4 separate regions of the Homo sapiens genome follow, and regions 2, 3 and 4 are each linked to region 1. The links are contacts of gene promoters, found by promoter capture Hi-C in blood cells and fetal thymus (Javierre and others, 2016). All regions are on one chromosome and are shown on one strand. Each heading gives the region's core, a stretch centred on a gene start or on the middle of the fragment in contact. The rest is flanking DNA. Distances are from core to core; before and after follow the strand shown. Region 1 holds the start of ZHX1 (zinc fingers and homeoboxes 1). Region 2 overlaps ZHX2 (zinc fingers and homeoboxes 2). Region 3 overlaps ANXA13 (annexin A13). Region 4 holds the start of FBXO32 (F-box protein 32).

Region 1 (2,547 bases), core at 25-2,524:
AAAGGGCTGTGGAATTCCTGCTCTGTCCGATATCTTCCCTGTATTCCTCTTTTCTCATCCCTAGTCTCTGTTCTAATTCCCCCGCCTGCTGTCTCTCATTGACGCCTTCCCAGCTGCTGGATCCTTCACTAACCTAAGCTAAGGATATCAAATGGAATCTTTTCCTTCTCAGGGGCTATGCTCTTTCCTTACAGTTACCCACGGAGGAGAGAGGACAGGAAAGGTACTAAAACAAAGAATTGCCAAGTCCCTTTACCTCCAACTTTGGTGTAAATATATAAGGAAAGGGGATCTGCCAGGGCTCTTCTTTCCTGCCCTTAGACCTTGTTCCTCTCACACCTCTCCTTCCCAGCCTTTTATACCCCTTGAGGTATTAGTAGATTGTTCACTGTGGGCCCTAAGGCTTGGAGGATTCCCATGGGTCAGCCCCCACACCCCCACGCCCCTACCATCCTCTTTAATTAACTTCTCCCTAAATCCCAGGGCTTCGTCACAATCGTAATATGGTTCTTAAGGACTCAACTCCCAGTCTTTCCCAAAGTTGGGACATGGCCTGGCCCCGAAACGGGTGCGCATAGCCTTCCTTGAACTGGAGGTAAAGACTTCTCCTGAAGGGTTTGCTGGGGCTCCAACCTCAGTCAGTGCGCTCAGCTCCAGCAAGAGAATCTCTCCTTACTCTCAGGGAGACTGGGTCCCCCACGAGGCAGCCACACGCCCCCGGAGGACAGCGCTCCTGACCTCCTCTAGGACTCCCAACATTACTGGGGTGCTCCCTCCGGCGGCGCCCTCCGCTGGGAATACGCAGTCTTCACTCCTCTCAACAATCCTAAGTTGCTGGGTCCTCACCAAGGCAGGGGGCTGAGATGTTCCCTCCAGAGAGCCCCCCGCCCCCAAGCTCTTTCGGTGGCGGAGACACCCAAAAAGAGCGAGGGAGGCTGTGGGTCTGTCTGTCCCTCTGCGGCGACTACCCAGCCGCGAGGCAGGCCCCGTCCCTCCCCCTCGGACGCCCCACGCCGGGTCCACCCCGCCACCCGCCGCCGCGAGCGGGCTCAGCCCCAGGGGTCTCTGCTGTGAGGCTGCCCTCCTCCCGCCAGGCCCCGCGCTACTCGCCTTTCCCGTGCCGGCCGCGGACTCTGCGCTCCAGTTCCCACCCGCAGCCCAGAGTCTCCGGGCCCGCTGGTCGCGGAGCCGGCTCGCGCCACTACCTGCAGGGGCCGCCGCGCCTCTCAGCGCCACGCCGCCGCCATCTTGCATTTCAAACCGGCTGCACTTTTCAGGGAGTCAACTCTGACCTGTGAACCCTAAACCCGGAACCGCTCGGCGGGCCCGCAAAGGGGCCTCAGCAGCTCGGTGGCCCCGCGGAGTGTGGGGACTCAGGGTGGGGGTGCGAGGAGAGGCGCGCGCCCCAGCGGCCGTCCGGGGGCGGAGGGGGAAGGGAGAGAGCCGGCCAAGGCGGGGCCCTCCCGCGCGCGCGTCCTCCGCGCGCCCCCACCCCGTGCGGCGCCGAGCTCTCCACGCCCAGACCCTGCTACTCCACTGGGGTCCGACCCCGGCCCCTAGTCCGGGGATTGGCGCACCGCGGGAGGTAGGGAGGCGCCCCGCCCCCCTGTCAACAGAAGCCCCGCCCCAGACTGCGGAAGCTCCGCCCCCTGTCAGGAGACGCCCCGCCTTCCCAGGGCTCGAAATGGCCCCGCCCTTTGCCTGCGACCGCTCCGCCCGCTGTGGACTGAAGCCTGGTCTTCTCTCGGGTCAGCACAGAAGGCAGCCCCGCCTTCCTTGCGCTCCGCCTTCCTAATGTCACTGCTGGATCGTGAGAGGTAAGCATGCTGGCTTCTACTGAAACGCCCCTTGTCATCACACGCCCATCCCCTGGGGCGACACGACCCAGGCCCCGCCCCTCGGGGGGCTGCTGCGAGTCCGGCCGGGAGCCCAGCGCCCTGACAGAAGTCGCCGCGCCCCTTGTCAGCGGCAGCTCCACCTCTCCTCGCTTCGGACCCCGCTCCTCCGCGGGCCGCAGCTCCACCCGCTGACACCGAAAGTTCAGTTCAGCTGCACTCAGAACCGCCGGGCAAGGCGGAGCCGCCCTCTGCCCCTCAGCCGCCCTCCTCCCTGCGAACCGCCACTCGCTCTTCCAGAGGCTTCTGTCCGAGTCGAGGGCTTCACATCCCGTCGGCTTTCAGGGAACCAGCCCCGCAGCGGGGCCAGCGAGGGCCAGGGGTTTCGGGAACACTGCCCGGCGTCTCCGCCCCTCCCTACTCACTTTCCCTTTCCCCCGCACCGCGGTCAGAACGTGGAGGAACAGAACCAAAGCGGAGAGCGGCGACTCACCCTCCAGCTGCTCCACACGCCGGGCCTTGGACGCTCGAGCGCTCCTGGGCCCCTTGACGTTCACTCCCCACCCCCATCCCAGTCGCGGACCCTTTGTGCAGAGCTCCGCTGAGCCACAGTAATCCTAAAAGCACAGCAGAGCTCCGCTGAGCCACATTAATCCTAAAAGATGCAATTGCTTCAAGTGGAAGTCTGATTTTTTTTTTTTTTTTGAGACGG
Region 2 (2,547 bases), core at 32-2,531, 480 kb before region 1:
AAGCTGGTGGATTTTGATCTGTTTGTACATCTGCATCCCTGAAATACTATGAGCCACTTCTCCACCCCAAGGGAAATCTTCCTGTTTGTCTCCGTGTTCCCAGCACCAGCACAGGGCTGGCCCACTTCATAGGCTCAAAATTAATGTCTGTGGAATGACTGGATGGTTATATGAATGAGGAAGTGGCTCTGTCACTACAGCCTATAGGAAGTTCTATGCTCCTGGGTTGGCACAGGTGCAGAATGAGTTGCTGCTCGCTGCTGCCCCTGGTGGCAGGTCATTGCCACAGCCTGGAAGGACTGTCACTGGACTATTTTGTAACAGGAAGCAGTCAAGGCAGTGTCTATCCCAGGCCAGCTTTGTCCCAAGTTCAGGTGCTTTTGGCCTATCTTGGCCAACCTGCCTGCCTCCCTGGCCTAGCCCTGCTCCCTTGTCTGGACATCTGGCCTCTGGGCGCAAGCTGGGTCCACTTCCTCCCTTGGGCCTGGCCTTATCCCTTGTTTCCTCTTGGGAGCACCATCTCCACCTTCCTTTGTGGCACATAGAGCAATATCACAACTGTCCTTGCAGGATCTTTCTGGTACTTCCAATAGTAAACTTTTTTTTTTTAATAGAGTCTGAACTTGAGATCAAATGCTATTTAATGGTGGTAGGAAGGCAGGATGTAAATGTGTTAAGTGTCAGCCATTGAACCAAGCATGTTGTATACTATACCTTGTTTTATATTATTTAATCCCAACTACCCCCATTGGTAGAAATTTTTATACTCATTTTACATATGAGGAAATTAAGGCTTCAAAGAAATTAACTTGCCTGAGTTACACAGTAAAAGGCAAGGCTGGGATTTGAAGCCAGGTCTGAGTGACATCTGATCCCATATACTTGCCCTGTCACAGTGCTGGACTGTTATGTAAAGGACATAAAGATTCTGTGTTAAGGCCAGGCGCGATGGCTCACGCCTGTAATCCCAGCACTTTGGGAGGCCGGAGGAGGCAGATCACCTGAGGTCAGGAGTTCGGGACCAGCGTGGCCAACATGATGAAACCCTGTCTCTACAAAAAATACAAAAATTAGCTGGGCATGGTGGCAGGCGCCTGTAATGCCAGCTACTTGGGAGGCTGAGGCAGGAGAATCGCTTGAACCCAGGAGGCAGAGGCTGCAGTGAGCTGAGATCATACCACTGCACTCCAGCCTGCACAATGGAGCGAGACTCCATCTCAAAAAAAAAAAAAAAAGATTAAATCCTTAGCAAGTAGGATATGTAGACACTGGCCCTGTCTTCCCCACTAGAGTTTAAGATTTTGCTTATGAGAGACCACACAACGGGAACTAGTAACAGCAGCATCTTTTACCTTTCCCTTTGGAGGCACGTCTTGTCACTAACACAGCCTCTCATCCTCAAGACACTGTCCTCTTGCAGTTTTGTCACCAGTGGGATGGTGGGATTATTAAGATTTACTTAGTGTGCTAAGTACTTACTTAGTACTTACTAAGATTTATCTTAGTGTGCCATCTTGTGTAATAGGAAAATGGGCTTGGGATTCCAGTCTGATATTTGTGTGTGCACATGCCCATGCTTAAGTAATAGAATAGCAGACCATTCTGTAACAACTGTGTGTAGGGGAGAAAATCTAGTTTCCTTTTTTTCCCTTTTTAGGTTCTTTGTGGAAACGCTGTCCTGAAAATAAAAGTCAGATTAACAGAAGACAAACAACCAAACGTTTATTAATGCGTGCTCTGCCCATCACATGGGAGAGGCCTTAGTTTAAAAGTATTTCTTTCTCAAGGTGGTGGCTTAGGGACCTTGCTTAAATAGTATTTTAACAAAGGGCCATAAATCCTATATAGTGACAAGACAAAGAAGAGAGCAGTTCCAGTCTTTGAAAAAGCGGGAAAATGTGGGAAGACAGTAAAATCTGTTCCCAGATTCCTCGGGTGCCTGCTGGTGCCTCCTTTGGTCTCCTAAGTCCGTGCTGTCTCCAGTAAGGAAAGATTTGTGTCCTCCCATCAGGCAGATGCAGGCCGGCCAGGGGGTTCCTTGGCATTGTCAATGTCTTTCACTTAACGATCCTCAATAGTTTGGAGAAAAGTATTTTGGTTTCCTTCAGGTGCAGGAAACCTCTGGGATAGGCATTGGATGAGATATGTGAGTAATCAGGTTAGGCTAAGCTATGATACAGTGACAGGTAAACCCCAATATCCCAGTGGCTTCATAAGGCAGAGTTTATTTCTTCCTTTCATGAAGTCCACTGAAGGACTACAGCTCTGTAAGGCAGCTTTCCTCCAAGCTGTGACTTGGGGATCCACGCTGCTAAAATTTTGTAGCCACTTCATTTGAAACAACTGGCTTTCAGGCTGCTGGAGGAGAGGAAGAGAAAAGGAAAGGGGTATGTACCCACTTTCTAAAGTTGCCACTTCTGCTCACACAACCTCGCAAAGCCGCAAGGAGCCTGGAGACTGTGGGGGAAGCACATGACCGTCGGGCCAGTAGTGCCTGTTTCTGCACAGAGAACCCTGGGCTGGCTGTGCTGCTTCAGCAAGCATTGT
Region 3 (2,547 bases), core at 29-2,528, 420 kb after region 1:
TCCCTCAAATCTTCCTACACACAAACCTCTGTCTGAGTCTGGTTCCAGGCAGCCCAACCTAAGACAGGAGCTCTCCTAACTTTACTTTACCGAGAGTTAAATAGGCCTTCTGCAAGTCGCCTGATGTTTCTTCTTCAATGGCTTCTTCTATGTCTTTGCCAATGAGCTGCAGCGAAAACCAAAATCAACTGTTATTCCAGGTTTGCCTTTGACCTTAGTACTCTTGGGGTTGTTCCTCTACAAAAAGCACTCAAGTTTTCCAGATTTAGTCCTGTGGCTTCAGGGAACTGCTATCCTGACTCTTGCCTTGTAGGATTGGGGTGTTTGCCACCCATTCGAGAGAGGGCTCTCGTTGCTGAGGAGTCAGTCTAGATTTGACTCCCAATGGATTTGACCTTAGTGCCACTCCCTCAACCTCAATTTCCTCATCTGTAAAATTTGGGAGTGGAGAAACAATTAATATATAATATATATTATAATATATATAATTAATATATTATATATACTATAATCATAGATTTTTTTTTTAACATTGATGTGTAGTTTAGTTCCCATGTGTTCTTCACCCTTTCCAGTTTCAATTTCCCAGGAGGCTGTGGTTATGATCATCTGACATGCACCTCCATCCTCTCCCTTGTCTTGGGACCAGGGACTTAGTCACAGTTTGAGTGAAATAAGTAGGCATGGTGAAGTTCATGATAACAACTTGATCTAAAGTTCCTGAGAGGGTGGGTCTGCAAGGGCTGGGAGCCGGGGGTGCTGACCACATCAAAATGCCACTTGTCTTCACTCTGGGGTGATTCCAAATAATCCTATATTCACCACTGGCTCACATATTGCTCTGCGCAGCATTACACATTAGGTTTCTTTCTAAATATTTACAGAAGCTGAAGTTCAGAGTAAATTGTGACTATCCTTAACACAAATACTGCCCGGGCCAAGCTCAGGGCAGGCACATAAAGAGAAAGGAGAATGCTTTGCTGGGTTTGGAGAAATGCAATTAAGCATTAGAAACACTGAAATTTCTTTCTTAGAAATTATCTTTTGAGGATATGACACAATTGATTCTATAAATAATTGGGGACTTTGAGTATGCACCAGTGGAGTTTATGTGGTTTATTTTGAAAACACAGGTAAACAAAATGTTCTTTGTGATGTAAGCACAATATATGTCGGGGGAGGAACTGTGTCCAGATTTAATGAAGCCCTGTTGCTTGATCTCCTAGTCATTGTTTGCATATCTGGAGGCCTTGGTGTGTGGCAATAGAAACCAGATTAGAAGAGTGGGGGAACTGTCCCTTCCTTAGCTGCCCCCAGTCTTTTTTGGGTTTGATGTGGGAGTCATTATTTTGGAAGGGATTGGTATCCCTTTCCCAGAAACAAGGTTCTTGTTCTGTAGACTGAGATCATACTTCAAGAGAACATTTTGTTCACACAGGTCTTGTTTACTTTAAAAAATCCTCACATTAAACCGTTTTCCATTTCTATTGTTAATACCAGGCTAGAGCAGGGATTTTAAATTTTCTGTAGAATCTCAGCCTACAAAACAGATGAAAGCAGAAAGCAGAGCTGTGCTGGGAGGCGGGAGGTGGGCTCCTTTCCCTTGCCATTGGCATCTATACCATGTTTTTGCCCGCTCAGGTTTTTTCCTTGCACAACTCCAGGAGGCGCTATTCACACACTGCAACAAGAAGGTACTGCCCTGTCTGCTTCCTGCCCCACCCTACTCCTGGTAGCTGCTGAGGCGTCTCCGTGGGACACAATCTGAAACAATGGTCTGGCCCAAGCTGTTGGGACTGTACTTTGGATACTTCTCACTTCAGTTACTGCAACGTGATTCTTAGGGGCTCTTTGTACAGAAGCAGATTTTCTGATCTCAGTAGAAAAACACATTATAAGGGTAGATTCCAAACAAGTCTCTAAGACTCTAGTTAAACAGGCAGCAATGCCTGCAGGGAGGTTATTAGAGGAGCAGGGGAGACATTTCTTTCTTTGAAAATCGGTTTCCCCAAATGGACGGCACGCTGACAGCAGAGCCCTCTGTGCTCTGGCACTGACTATAGCAGTTAGAGGGCTGAAGCCTCTGGCGTGGAATAAGGAACATGTACAGGGGAGGGGCAAAGGGTGAGGCACGCAGTGAGGTGGCAGCAAAGTGGGCTATGGGTATGCATACCTACTGTTTATGCTGAGCCCTGTTTGGGGACTTTACTTTGGTTTTATAGCTATATAAGTCTTTCATATTTGGTAACGCTGGGGACTGTAATAATCCTGCATGATGCAGAAGTTTGGGAAACTGTTGCGTGGCCTGGGATTGCTGGGAGTGTCAGAAGTTAAGACTCAGGCTTAGAGCATAAATAAATGGCAAAACCCTGAGTTTTTGTGCTGAAAATTAAAATTCAACCCTAAGCCAGGACGACTCATGCCACATAAGAAACTCCAGTGATCTCAGACTAGCATCTCTGTGCTTTTGGTCAGAAGCCATCAGAAAAATCATAGAACCAGGGTCTAAGAGCAGGCTGAACTCTAAAAACATCAGCAATAAATATC
Region 4 (2,547 bases), core at 32-2,531, 270 kb after region 1:
CCGGGCTAAATGCTGAGAGTCTCTGAAAGTCAACTGTCGAGGTCAGGGGCTGAGAAATTCCAGGCTACCTTGCGTACTAGCCGGCGCTGGCATCGTTAGCCAAGCTGAGCAGGGAGCGCAGCGGACCTCAGGTTTCCCGCCAGACCACAGAGCTCAGGTGAGGCCTCGAATCCAGAGGCTCACCGGGGCCAGGCAGGCTTTTCGCAGCTGACAGGCACCCCTGGAAACGGAGTGCACTCTATACAAAGCAGACCGACCGAGAGGGCCACCGAGGAAACAGGTGCAAGAGCCCTGTCCTCCCAGAAGCAGAGCTCTTGTGGGATTCATCCCCTGCCCCCTTCCCTCCTTTGCACCTCTGCAGCCCCAAGCCTCCACCGCTCGCAAGTCCGCCCAGTAAGCGGCTGCCCCAGGGACCATCTGGCCGTCCCTTCCTGGTTACTCATCCTCCCGGCCACTTCGTGGTTGCCCGTGCCTGGGCAGGGCCTGGAAGCGCTCCAGGCGGGACCTTCGTCGGATCCCGTCACCTGTCGCGTCCACAGCGCTTGGGCGCTGGGAGCCGGGCCACCCCGCGGTGAAGGGGCTCAGCCCACCCGCCCGCGCCCCCACATGGGCAAAGTGCGCGACTCCGGTGTCCTTAAAGCAGGGACCACTAAAGCTGTGTGATTAAGTTTGAGCGAACGTTTGGGGACACGATCCGCGAATGTCATCAGACTCTCAGAGGGACCAGGTGTTCTGTAAGGAGTCGTGTCCACTTGGAGACACTGACCTTGAACAATAAGAGAAACCGAATTCCCTGTCTCCGGTGGTCCGAAGACCTCTGCAGAAATCGGGCCCCGTAGTCCCACCCTCCGGGTCAGGGTCTCCCTCCTCAGCCCGCTCCAGCCCTGCCTGCCCCTCATTCGCCGTCCCTGCGCCCCCCAGACCAGCCCGGGTCAGTTTCGCGGGGGCTGGAAGTTGGTAGCGGGTCCCCTCACCTGCTGAGGTCGCTCACGAAACTGCCGCTCTTCTCATCCAGGAAGCGCTTCCAGCCGTCGGCCGTCTTCACCCAGTTCTGCCCGGGGGACCGCCAGTCCTGCCCGAGGAATGGCATGGCACCGCGAGCGGACTAGACGGATGGGGAGACGGGGCCGGCCTGGTGGGCTCGGGGACGTGCCACCCGGGGCGGATGCTCGGGGTGCAGGGGCCCGCGACGGGGGCGGCGGGGCGGCGGGAACGGCGCGGGGCACCCTGCGGGGTGGCGGGCGCGGAGAGGATCTCAAGCGTTGCAGGCTCCGGGAGTGCTGCGCGGCAGTAGCTGCCGCAGTATTTATCCCCGCAGCCGGCCGCAGCTCTTTGTTGCCGGAAGAGCCGCCCGCTCTTAGCCCGGCCCCCCGGCCCGGAGGCCACGTGGCTTTGTTTATGGGCTCGGCTTGTTTTCCGAGGCGCCTGCGGCTCACGCTCCCCTCCCGGTTGCACAACCGCGCCGGTGGAAACTTGAAGCGGTGCTGCCGGGCCGGGTACCCCGCCGCCCCTGGCACCTCCGCGCGCCCTCCCCGCCCCCAGGACACCGTTGTCCCAGAGCGAGGCCCGGCGCTTGGAAAGATGCGCCCCGGTCTCCTGCAGCTCCCGGGCTGACGGGGTGCAGGGAGGGGGCCGGAGGGGCGTCTGGGTCCCTGCGGGGTGGGCGTGAGGAGCAGGGCCAGCCCCCCTCCTGCCCCCGAGCTATCAGGATCGACCTCCGCAGCCAGATCAGCCTCCCGGGCCGTCCGCAGAGCTGGGGCCGGCACCGCGCCCGCCGGGCGGGGAGTAGGGGGCGCAGCCTCCTGACCTCGCTCACTGCCCCAACCCCGCCCTAGCGCGCGGGGGTTGGAGCGGGGAGGAGGGACAGCCTCCCAGCCCTCCGGGCCCCTTAGCTGTCACTAACCAGTCCTCCTTCAGACCTGCCCCTGGGGCAGCAAAGGAGGGGAAGGAGAGGAAGCCCTGGGAGGTATCTGGCTCCCGCAGGTTGGGAGTGGAGAAAAAGAACAGCGCCCCTATCCTACCCGAACCCTCTAAGAGACGGGTTAAATGATGTACCCAGGGCCAATGCTACAGTACAATCTGAAACTACCCTGTTTGCTTTTACTTTTTGCTGTTGTTACAACAATCTACCCCTGTCTGCAGTGGGAACTCCATGAGAGCTGGTCTGTCTTGTTCCGGAGGCATTTCAGCCCCTGCACCCTGCCAGGCCCAGTGCAGGCCTTCAACAACTATTTGTGTGAATAAGTGAATGGATACGGGAGGCTGCTGGCATGAGGGTGGCTTCTTGCCCTTCATCACCTCTAGTTATGATGCTTTACAGCCTGGTCTATTTGGCAATTAGTTTGCACAGGACAGCAGCAGCAGAGTAAAAATCCCATACTCAAGCATTAGCTTCAAACTTCATTCTTCCATTCTTCTTTCTCTGCAGCCATCAATATCATCTAGTCCACTGACTCGGTGTAATCTTTAAGGCTCAGGCAAAGAAATTGTGTGTGCCCTATGAGGCTACATGTTGGACTGGGAAGACGTTTTTAATAAAGTTTGTTT

The links. The method cuts DNA at HindIII sites, captures the fragments that hold promoters and counts their contacts. A CHiCAGO score of 5 or more calls a contact.
Region 2: a contact is called between a fragment that was not itself captured here and the fragment with the promoter of ZHX1 in region 1, in 1 of 17 cell types (non-activated CD4 T cells). The highest score is 5.2, in non-activated CD4 T cells.
Region 3: a contact is called between a fragment that was not itself captured here and the fragment with the promoter of ZHX1 in region 1, in 4 of 17 cell types (total CD8 T cells, naive CD8 T cells, naive CD4 T cells and 1 more). The highest score is 6.6, in total CD8 T cells.
Region 4: a contact is called between the fragment with the promoter of FBXO32 here and the fragment with the promoter of ZHX1 in region 1, in 1 of 17 cell types (fetal thymus). The highest score is 5.1, in fetal thymus.

Annotation. Positions count from the first base shown.
Region 1 is chr8:123,273,012-123,275,558 of GRCh38, forward strand. It overlaps ZHX1 (zinc fingers and homeoboxes 1), which reads right to left and starts at 1,275. Exons shown (of 4, transcript NM_007222.5): 1 at 1,206-1,275. ZHX1-C8orf76 (ZHX1-C8orf76 readthrough) reads right to left here and starts at 1,275. Exons shown (of 6, transcript NM_001204180.2): 1 at 1,206-1,275. RefSeq lists silencers at 532-899, 936-1,135, 1,336-2,025 and an enhancer at 2,506-2,547. The HindIII fragment of the contact is 9,533 bases long and covers 1-2,547 here.
Region 2 is chr8:122,794,952-122,797,498 of GRCh38, forward strand. The region is part of intron 1 of ZHX2 (zinc fingers and homeoboxes 2); the gene reads left to right. Among named protein-coding and RNA genes, the nearest start is that of ZHX2, 15 kb to the left of the region's middle. RefSeq lists enhancers at 1-99, 410-529, 2,210-2,547, 2,290-2,379 and a silencer at 220-319. The HindIII fragment of the contact is 2,746 bases long and covers 1-2,547 here.
Region 3 is chr8:123,688,781-123,691,327 of GRCh38, forward strand. It overlaps ANXA13 (annexin A13), which reads right to left. Exons shown (of 11, transcript NM_004306.4): 9 at 91-166. Among named protein-coding and RNA genes, the nearest start is that of KLHL38, 36 kb to the left of the region's middle. The HindIII fragment of the contact is 2,754 bases long and covers 1-2,547 here.
Region 4 is chr8:123,539,925-123,542,471 of GRCh38, forward strand. FBXO32 (F-box protein 32) reads right to left here and starts at 1,282. Exons shown (of 9, transcript NM_058229.4): 1 at 975-1,282. The coding sequence starts at 1,090. RefSeq lists silencers at 1,179-1,268, 1,319-1,428, 1,519-1,808. The HindIII fragment of the contact is 4,426 bases long and covers 1-2,547 here.